Linked DNA regions of Homo sapiens: region 1 is linked to region 2. Evidence: promoter capture Hi-C in 16 types of primary human blood cells and fetal thymus (Javierre and others, 2016). All regions are on one chromosome and are shown on one strand. Each heading gives the region's core, a stretch centred on a gene start or on the middle of the fragment in contact. The rest is flanking DNA. Distances are from core to core; before and after follow the strand shown.

Evidence for each region. The method cuts DNA at HindIII sites, captures the fragments that hold promoters and counts their contacts. A CHiCAGO score of 5 or more calls a contact.
Region 1: the fragment with the promoter of C8orf58 here is called in contact with the fragment with the promoter of PPP3CC in region 2 in 16 of 17 cell types (naive CD4 T cells, total CD8 T cells, non-activated CD4 T cells and 13 more); the score reaches 25.7 in naive CD4 T cells.

Annotation. Positions count from the first base shown.
Region 1 is chr8:22,596,972-22,601,180 of GRCh38, reverse strand. It overlaps C8orf58 (chromosome 8 open reading frame 58), which reads right to left and starts at 1,582. Exons shown (of 7, transcript NM_001013842.3): 1 at 1,421-1,582; 2 at 1-299. The coding sequence starts at 1,460. It also overlaps a transcript of PDLIM2 not described here. RefSeq lists silencers at 1,183-1,642, 1,673-1,772, 2,138-2,197 and enhancers at 2,584-3,331, 3,332-4,079. The HindIII fragment of the contact is 7,578 bases long and covers 1-4,209 here.
Region 2 is chr8:22,438,823-22,443,064 of GRCh38, reverse strand. PPP3CC (protein phosphatase 3 catalytic subunit gamma) reads right to left here and starts at 1,987. Exons shown (of 14, transcript NM_005605.5): 1 at 1,607-1,987. The coding sequence starts at 1,655. RefSeq lists silencers at 1,465-2,124, 2,215-2,404. The HindIII fragment of the contact is 13,070 bases long and covers 2-4,242 here.

The DNA of each region.
Region 1 (4,209 bases), core at 333-2,832, 160 kb before region 2:
CTTCTGGCTGGCCAGGAGTCGGCCTACCTGGGCGGGGGGCTCAGAACTCCCTGAGGATTCAAAGTCCAGGGAGTCCTGAGAAAGGCCCGGTAAGGCGGCCAGGGGGCTGTCCCCAACTGCCATCTCCACTCCTGAGTCCCGGGAGGCCAGTTTGAGAAAGAGTGCCTCCCTGCCGACACCTCTGAACTTGTCACCTCTCTCCCAGGATGAGCACCCGTGGGCAGCGTCGGGGATCCGTCTGTAGGTGCTGGTGACTCCAGGCACTATGCAGCCCCGTGCCAGGCCCTCGCCAGCCCCATCTGCATGGAGAGTCAGCGTCAGGCTGGGCAGGCCACCCCCAACACCCCCAGCATTCCTGAAGGCTGGCAGCACTGCCCCAGGGAGAAGTGTCCCGGAGCAGTGAGGAAGGGCGGTCACTGGACAGCCACGGGCAGCCCGGATATGGCCCCAGCTGTCTGGGAGATGTGTGGATGGGATTCCCTTCGCAACGGTTGTTAGCGACAGGGAACCCGTGCTCTGAGCTGTGTGGTAGGCAAAGCCCTGGCAGGCCACATCCATCAATCCCTTAGACGGCCTGCGCCTGCGCTTCCCACCTAGGATCAGCCCACGATCTCCCGAGTCAGAAGTAGGGAGCCACAGGCTCTTCCGCTGCTCCCCAAGCGGGAGTAGGACTGTATCCAGCTTCAGGGAGAGGGGAGAGGGTACAGAGAGGAAAGCCTGGGATCCAACCTGCTCTCTGGGGGCCCCTGCGGCATCAGGATGCCAGGTGAAGTCTCTCCTGCAGCTCACCGGGAGAGTGATAAAAATCACCGCTATAACCGATTTGGGCTTTTGTTGTAAGTGAGCAATAGTGAAGATTTTATGAAAAGTTTAAAATGAAAGAACTGAAGTGAAAGAAAGGGACGAAGGGGCAGCATTAGCACCCCCTCACTGTCACCTCCGCCAGGCCCTCTGGCGACGGGGCGTCCTGGCGGAATGAACGGTACGGGAAACAGGCTAGGGGGGCGGGGACGAGCTGCGGGGCACGCGGGAGCCGAATGCCAACCCAGGCCCCTCTGGGCAAGGAAGTGGGCCAGGAGGTCACTGGGTGGGAGAGGGGTCCGCAGCCACGGAGGGGGCTGGGGCGCGGGCGGATTCCCACATCCTCAGAAGGAGCGGGAAGGCGAGGGAAGCGGAGCCGGAGGAAGTGGGGCGGAGGCGGTGGCTGGTTTAACGCCTGGGCCCAAAGGGGTTCCAGCCTGCATGGCGTCCCCTGATGACCGCCCCTCCAGGGAGGCGGCGAGGGAGGCGCAGCGGCGCGGGCTCCGCCCGCGGGGTGCGCGGGGCTGGGCAAGAAACTGAGAGAGGGTGCCCGGCTTGGGGGCGGGAAGCGGCTCCGGGGCAGGGGGGAGCCCGGCCAGCCTGGGGGTGGGTGACTCACCCCGGCCGTCCACGGCGAAGGCGCGCCGCCGGCCCATCATGGCCCGCTCCCGGCCCCGGCCCCGGCCAATGCAGCCGCCCGAGGATCCCGGCCCGAGTCCCCGCGGAGCTCGGGCAGCTCAGGGAGCGCGTCCCGACCCAGCTGGGCGCGGCCCCCAGACACTCCCAGCGGGGCTGGGGGGGCGGGGAGCGGGGCTGGGGGGGCGGGGGGCGGGGCGGTGGGGGGCGTGGCCTAGGGGGAGGAGAGAGGAAGAGCGAGACGAGGAAGGGAGGGGCGAGGAGAGAGGGGAGGGGCGAGACGAGGGAGGGGAGGGGCGAGGCAAGGTAGGGGAGCGGCGAGAGGAGGGGAGGGGCGAGGGGAAGGGGGAGGGGCGAGGAGAAGGGGGCGAGGAGAAAGGGGCGGGGCAAGACGAGGGATGAGAGGAACGAGGCGAGGGAGGGGAAAGGAGAGGGAGGGGAGGGGCGAGGAGAGGGAGGGGAGGGGCGAGGAAGAGGAGGGCGAGGGGAGGGGAGAGGAGAGGGTGGGGAGGGGAGAGGGAGGGGAGAGGGGAGGGGCGAGGAGAGGGTGGGCAGAGGAGAGGGAGGGGAGAGGGGAGAGGGGAGGAAAGGAGAGGGGAGAGGGGAGGAGAGGAGAGGGGAGAGGGAAAGGGGAGAGGAGAGGGAGGGGAGGGGAGAGGAGAGGGAGGGGAGGGGAGAGGAGAGGGGAGGGGCGAGAGGAGGGAGGGGAGGGGCGAGAGGAGGGAAGGCAAGGGTGCCAGGTGGGGGGCGCAGGTGGCCGGGTCGCCAAGAACGAGGTCGAAGGCACGGACTGGGTGGCGCCCCCAACTGTGGCTGTGGCCAAAATAAGGGTCCCGATCAGCTGTTCTGCGAGGACCCGGCCCCCGCCTGGGGACGCCGTCTGGCTCGGGGCGCCGGTCCGCCCGGCCCCGCGGGTTCACACGCAGCGTCCGTCTTCCTGCCGCGGACTTAGAGCCGGGGCTGGCTGGAGGACCGGACAAGAGCCAGGAAGGAAATGGGAGCCCCACGTGCTGGCGGTGGGAAGAGCGCTGACCAGGACGCGGGCACCCGGCGCTCCCTAGCAGTGTGGCTTGGGGGCCAGTCTCTTGGCCGCTCGGAAACCTGGGCGATGGGAGGGGAAACGATCCTGCCCACCGGGAAATCTTTTACAACTGCAGAACGCGCGTGTGTCCTCAGCTAGATCTGAACCCCCTCCCGGTCCCCTGCCTCTTTCTCATCCCGGGCTCCCTAAAGCTGGGGACTGGGTAGGTCTCAAGGTCTGGAAAGATGCGAGCCAGCGGGGAGCCGCCTGGAGACTGGGCCAAAGTGTAAATGTCCCCCTGTTCCCACCTCACCCTGCCTTTGGCCCGTGGGATTCCACCCCTCAGTCCCCAACCTAAAAGGAGCCCAAGAAGCTACTGAAGATGAGAGAGAGCCTGGTGACCAGACTGGGGCTGGTGTCCTCTAAAGAAGGCACCTCCTCCAGAGGGAGGGGGCAGGGCTGGAAAAATCCCAGCAGGACCCAAATCCCCCGGAGGCAGATAAGGGAGCTGGAGGACGTGCAGACTAGCACCTGGACCTCTAGGGGAGGGGAGAGGCTGGAGCCAGAGCCACTGGAAGGAAGTGGCTGTTTACCGGGAGGGGTAAGACAGTCTGTGCATCCCCTTCCCTTTGCTCCTTTCTGGAACCAGTCCCCAAACACCCACTGCAGGAGCCTTTATCAGAGAGCCACAAACTATCAGATTTTAAAACTTTATAAAATGGGGAAACTGAGGCCCACAGCCAATCTCTGCGCAGGCCAGCCGAATGACAGCCAAGTGCCAGAATTGCTGGCCATGTCTCAACAGAGTCACATTCAAGCCCAGGCCCTTCCCTGCTAGCCATGGGTCCTCTGGGTTGCCCCCACCCTGCCCAGTCCTCCTAGACAGTACCCATTCCGCTTCTCACAGGCAGAGAGAGAACCAGAGTGCTGGGTCTCCAGGAACTGCCTTATGCAAGACCAAGAAGATGTGTGGAATCACACCCCGGCCGTGCCAGAGCCCTGCCAGCCCTCCCTGGGTAGGAGGGAGCCCAGACTCCCTCCAAAGTAAGAGGGTGGGGGAGGGAGCCTTTGCCAGATCGCGCCCTGAATTTGGAGAATGTGGGGCGGGATTCCAAACAGTCTCTGTGGTGACTCTGGGACAGGAATGCATCTGGAAACAGGAAGCCCAGCCAGCAGGAATGCAGTGTCTCAGCACAATGCTTTGTGTGTGACTCAAAAGAACCTCCACACACACACCCCAACACACACTCCCCTCCAGGCCATGGCGCACCCCTCCTCCCCACCACCGCCATGCAGATGCGTCCTGGCCCAGGACCAGCTCAGAGGAACCTGAGCCCTGGCGGGCACGGGGGCAGGATCTGACCCAACACCCAAAGTAGGGGGATGCCCCCTTCCTGTGGCAGCCGCAGTCCCAAGCCTAGAGCCAGGCCAGGGCTCTCTGAGTGATGCTTGAAGGAATGGGAGGGGCAGCCCGTCCATGCACTCCTGACAAGGTAAACCACTGCCATGAGTTCCTGAGACAGACAGTGTCCTGAGCAGGGTCAGCCCTCAGGCTGCCCAGTGGCCCCTGCACTTCCCATGGGGAAGTCCTGGCTTCAGGAAGTGGGTTTCCTGCAAGCTCAGCTGGAGCTAGTACCCGTGGGAGGAAGCACAAAGCTGAGAGCCTACAGAGCGCTGGGGAGGGCTGTGGTGACCTCCAGTTGTGACCAGAGGTGACCAGAGCTGTGCCTGGAAGGCTGCCTCTGATGACA
Region 2 (4,242 bases), core at 738-3,237:
TTCACTAAGATCCTATTTATTCTGACTTGACCCACAGTTCTGGCTTATCTGGTTTCCCTGCCTACTTCAGCTAAGACGTAGCAGATTAGAAAGCAGTTAAGGGCATATTTTGACAGAAAACAGTACTGGAGAGAGAAACTAAAAGCAAACAAAACACTGAACTGGTATAGCATTGCGAAGTCATTTTAGTACAGGACGAAACTGCTAACAACTTTATACAGCAGAACGCACCGGCCATATTAACAGCACAGTACAGAAATTAATGTACATAATGACCTTGATTCCTCAAAAAAGGTTATGTTAAGTACACTCTGAATCTTAAGAGAGGGCTATATACTTCTTATAGGCTATACACTAATAATATGAAGACACATTTAAATGGTCACAATAATTTAGCTGTTCAGGGGATAATGTCAGTTAGATGAACAATTCAGTTAAACCTCTAACGATAGCATACAAATGCTAAGCAGATAAATCTCAAAAATCCCATTATAATTATGTAGTACAGATAATTAACATTTATGAGGCTGATTTGGGGAGAGAGGGGGGAAACCTAAGTTATACACTAAAATTCTTCCCCCTCCCTGAACATGCAATAAGGCGTTTCACCTTTTAAAAATGTATTCCCGTCACTAGTATTAGTTGCCTTTCTCCTTCTAATACCAAAATGAAAAAGAAGAAAAGTATCTTAATAATTTTCCCCACTGTCACGCTAACCCCTGCATCCAGAGGCCACTAACACAGCTGGTCTAAGTCTATTCCCTTCTTACAAAATAGCGCTTTCAAACCGATTGTTAATCTCAGAGAGAAGGGTTGTGCCTAAGACTTACGGCTGAATAAAAGCAGCACATAAATTAGTGGTTATGTGTAATCCATCTTCTTAGTTTAAAGGGAGAAACAACTATAACCTAAAACTCTACAAGATTTAGAGAGCAAAGAGCCCTTTACATTTTGTTCTTATAACAACAACAGAAATCTAACGCAGGTACACATATGAATCAGAAAACGTCATTCTCCAAGTCTTTATAACCAAAGGGAAAATAAAATACCATTACCCTGTCAAGAGCTCCGTAAACTTATTTTAAACATCATATAATGGATTTATCTGACTTGTTCATACTAAGTTTATTCCAGTAATAGCAGTGACTTGCAATGATCTAGAGAAAGCGGGTCAAAAGGCACATGGTATACGTCCTAAAAAAGGGTGGGGGGCGGACGTCAAGAAAGATCTAATCTTAAATATCTTACTTGGAAGAGTCGACTCCCTGCTCACACCACCCCCGATGGCTTCCCCCGAGTCGTTTCTTAAAGAGAAAAAAAGACAGGGATCCGGGCCCTTCGGGGCGGTGGGAGAAGAAGTCCCCACTGCACCCTGAACCCTTCGGGAGGGAACTTGGCACTGACGGCCAGGCACCTGACCAGGTGCAGCAGAAAACGCCGGGTCCGGGTGGCTGCTCTCGGAGGCTGCCGCCCGGCTCTGTCTACACCCCTCCGAGCCCTCCTAGGGTGGGCGCAGCCCGGCCCCAGCCTCCCTCCGCCCCGAGCCGCCGCCCAGCCGAAGGCCGTTTCCCGCGGGTCCCAGAGGAAGGCCCGGCCCGCCAGGCACCTTTGATGACGCGGTCGGTGGTGGAGAGGTGGAAGCGCCTCCCGGACATGGTCCCCTCGGCCTCCTCCAGGCTCCAGGAGCCCGCCGGACGTGCGCCTACGCCGCGGCCGCCGCCTTCTCCTCGGGCAGCCTTAGCTGCCCGGAGCCGTCAGCCAGCCGTGCCCGGCCCCGGCTCCTCAGCGGTGTCCGAGCACCAGAAGGGCGCGGCCACCGCAGCGCCGGCCTCCGACGCCACTGACAGGACGAGGGCCCACCGGCCGCTCTCTTGGGAGGCGCCAGCGGCTAAGGCGGGGAACACCGCTTCGGCACCGACCGCGACCGCTGCTAAGGGTGGCGACCGGGACGGCCGCGGCTGCTCGCGGCCCGGGCCCTCGTGCACGCAAGCGCGCCCCCGAGCGCCGCTCTCACAACTTCCCAGCGGCCCCGCTGTCCTAGCGGACCCGGCCGGGCCTCCCGCCCCGAGCGCCGCCCTCCCCACCCTTCCGCCTTCCCGCGAGGCAGTAGAGCTCGGCGCACGCGCTGCTCTCGGCTCCTCCGGCTCCGGGTCCCTGCTGCTAACCGCCCATTTTCGCTTCTTCTCAGCCAGCCCTCCCCGCAGCCGGCCCCTTCTCTCCTGCCAGCCCCTACCCGGGCCCGGAACATCTGAAACCCGCCCGCGTGGCCCGCGCGACCCGCGCGGGAGGCCGGCCCGGCCATCTTGCGACCCGGCCCTGCGGCCTCGCAGCGGCTCCGCGCCGCCTCCTGGGACCGCCTCGCCGAGAACCCCTGGCCTCCCAGTCCTCGCCCACAGGCGACCACCCTCCTCACCTCTGGGTCTCCCACCCGCTTTGTCTCAAGGAGTGTGATCAGTCCGGCCGCGCTCCTTCAGTTTTTGTGGGTCATTCAACAAACGCACACATTTAAACCCCCTCGCTTCATCTTTCCCGCTTGTTGAGTGCAGTTAGTACAATGAGAAGGACATTCGTGTCCATCCTAGTTCCAGTCCAGTAGCTAGGGCGGTGGGGGATTGGGGGAGCTCCGTTTCTGAGCAAGGCTCTGCTCCCTCCTCACTTTCCACATCGAAGAGAAGGGAGATCTCTGCTCCTGGGACCCCCGGGCCGGACCTCCTCGGCCACAAGAACTGACCTCTTCCTATGCCCTGTGTGTCACCTGCCCAGCTAGAAGCCCCTTTTTTCTTCCCCCTGACACAGTACCTGCCTCCCCGGCCCAGGCTCACTGTGGAACCCCATGGGCAAGTCCGTAGAAACTTAACAGTCTGTTCATCTCGAGGTTAAAAACTAACCTTTATCTGTCCTTAAAACTGTAAGCCTAGAACAGAAACTGGCTCCAACTGTCCTCTCACTGAGTAACTGGCAAAGTCAAAAGGATTTTGACTTTTAGCAATGCAAATGAAATATTGAAACTGATGTCCAATAAAACATATGCAAGTTACAGGCAAAACCAGTCTTAACAATTACCGCAGTGACCGATAAGTAGTTGTAGCTATGTAAATTTAAATTAATCCCGTTCCTCTAGGGGACTAGCCACATTTCAAGTGTTCAAGAGCTACACGCGGCTACCTTATTGGACATCCAGAAAATTCTACTGGACAGCTGTTAGGTAAAAGATTATAGGATTAAGCGTAAATCTCCAATAATATGGATTTATGTATAGGCGGTCTGGGGATATATAGTGGAATCAGACCCTGAATTATCCCTTGGAATTTTGACCATAGCTCTTTGATGGTAACCGCAGGAGGCAAAAGGACTTTAGGAGCCGACTAGAATTTGGTTTTCGTTTTCATGATCCTTGAGTCTTCCACCCAAGAGAATTGTTCAGATATCCTGGGGAAACTCTTCATTTAAGAAGTAACCAGAACTCCACGCCTATCAAATCATACCCCTGGGTCAGAGGCTAAAATTCATCTGGAAGAACCTCAACAGGATAGCTAAAAATAAAAAGTTTAAGAAAACATTGCGGGCCGGCAAAAAAGAAAAAAAAAAAGACCGGGTGGGGTGGCTCACGCCTGTAATCCCAGCACTTTGGGAGGCCGAGGTGGGTGGATCACGAGGTCAGGAGATCGAGGCCATCCTGGCTAACACGGTGCAACCCCGTCTCTACTAAAAATACAAAAAATTAGCCGGGCGTGGTGGCAGGCGCCTGTAGTCCTAGCTACTTGGAAGACTAAGGCAGGAGAATGGCGTGAACCCGGGAGGCGGAGCTTGCAGTGAGCCGAGATCGCGCCACTGCACCACTCCAGCCTGGGCAATAGAGCGAGACTCCGTCTCAAAAAAAAAATAAAATAAAGAAAGAAAGAAGGAAAGAAAGAAAAAACATTGCGGGCCGGGCAAGGTGGCTCACGCCTGTAATCCCAGCACTTTGGGAGGCCAAGGCAGGCGGATCACCTGAAGTCAGGGGTTTGAAAACAGCCTGGCCAACGTGGTGAAACCCCGTCTCTACTAAAAATACAAAAATTAGCCTAGCGTGGTGGCACATGCCTGTAATCCCAGCTACTCGAGAGGCTGAGGGAGGAGAATCGCTTGAATCCGGGAGGCGGAGGTTCCAGTGAGCCAAGATTACGCCCCGGCACTCCAGCCTGGGTGACAGAGCGAGACTGTCTCCAAAAAGAAAAAAAGAAAAAGAAAACGTTGCAGGCC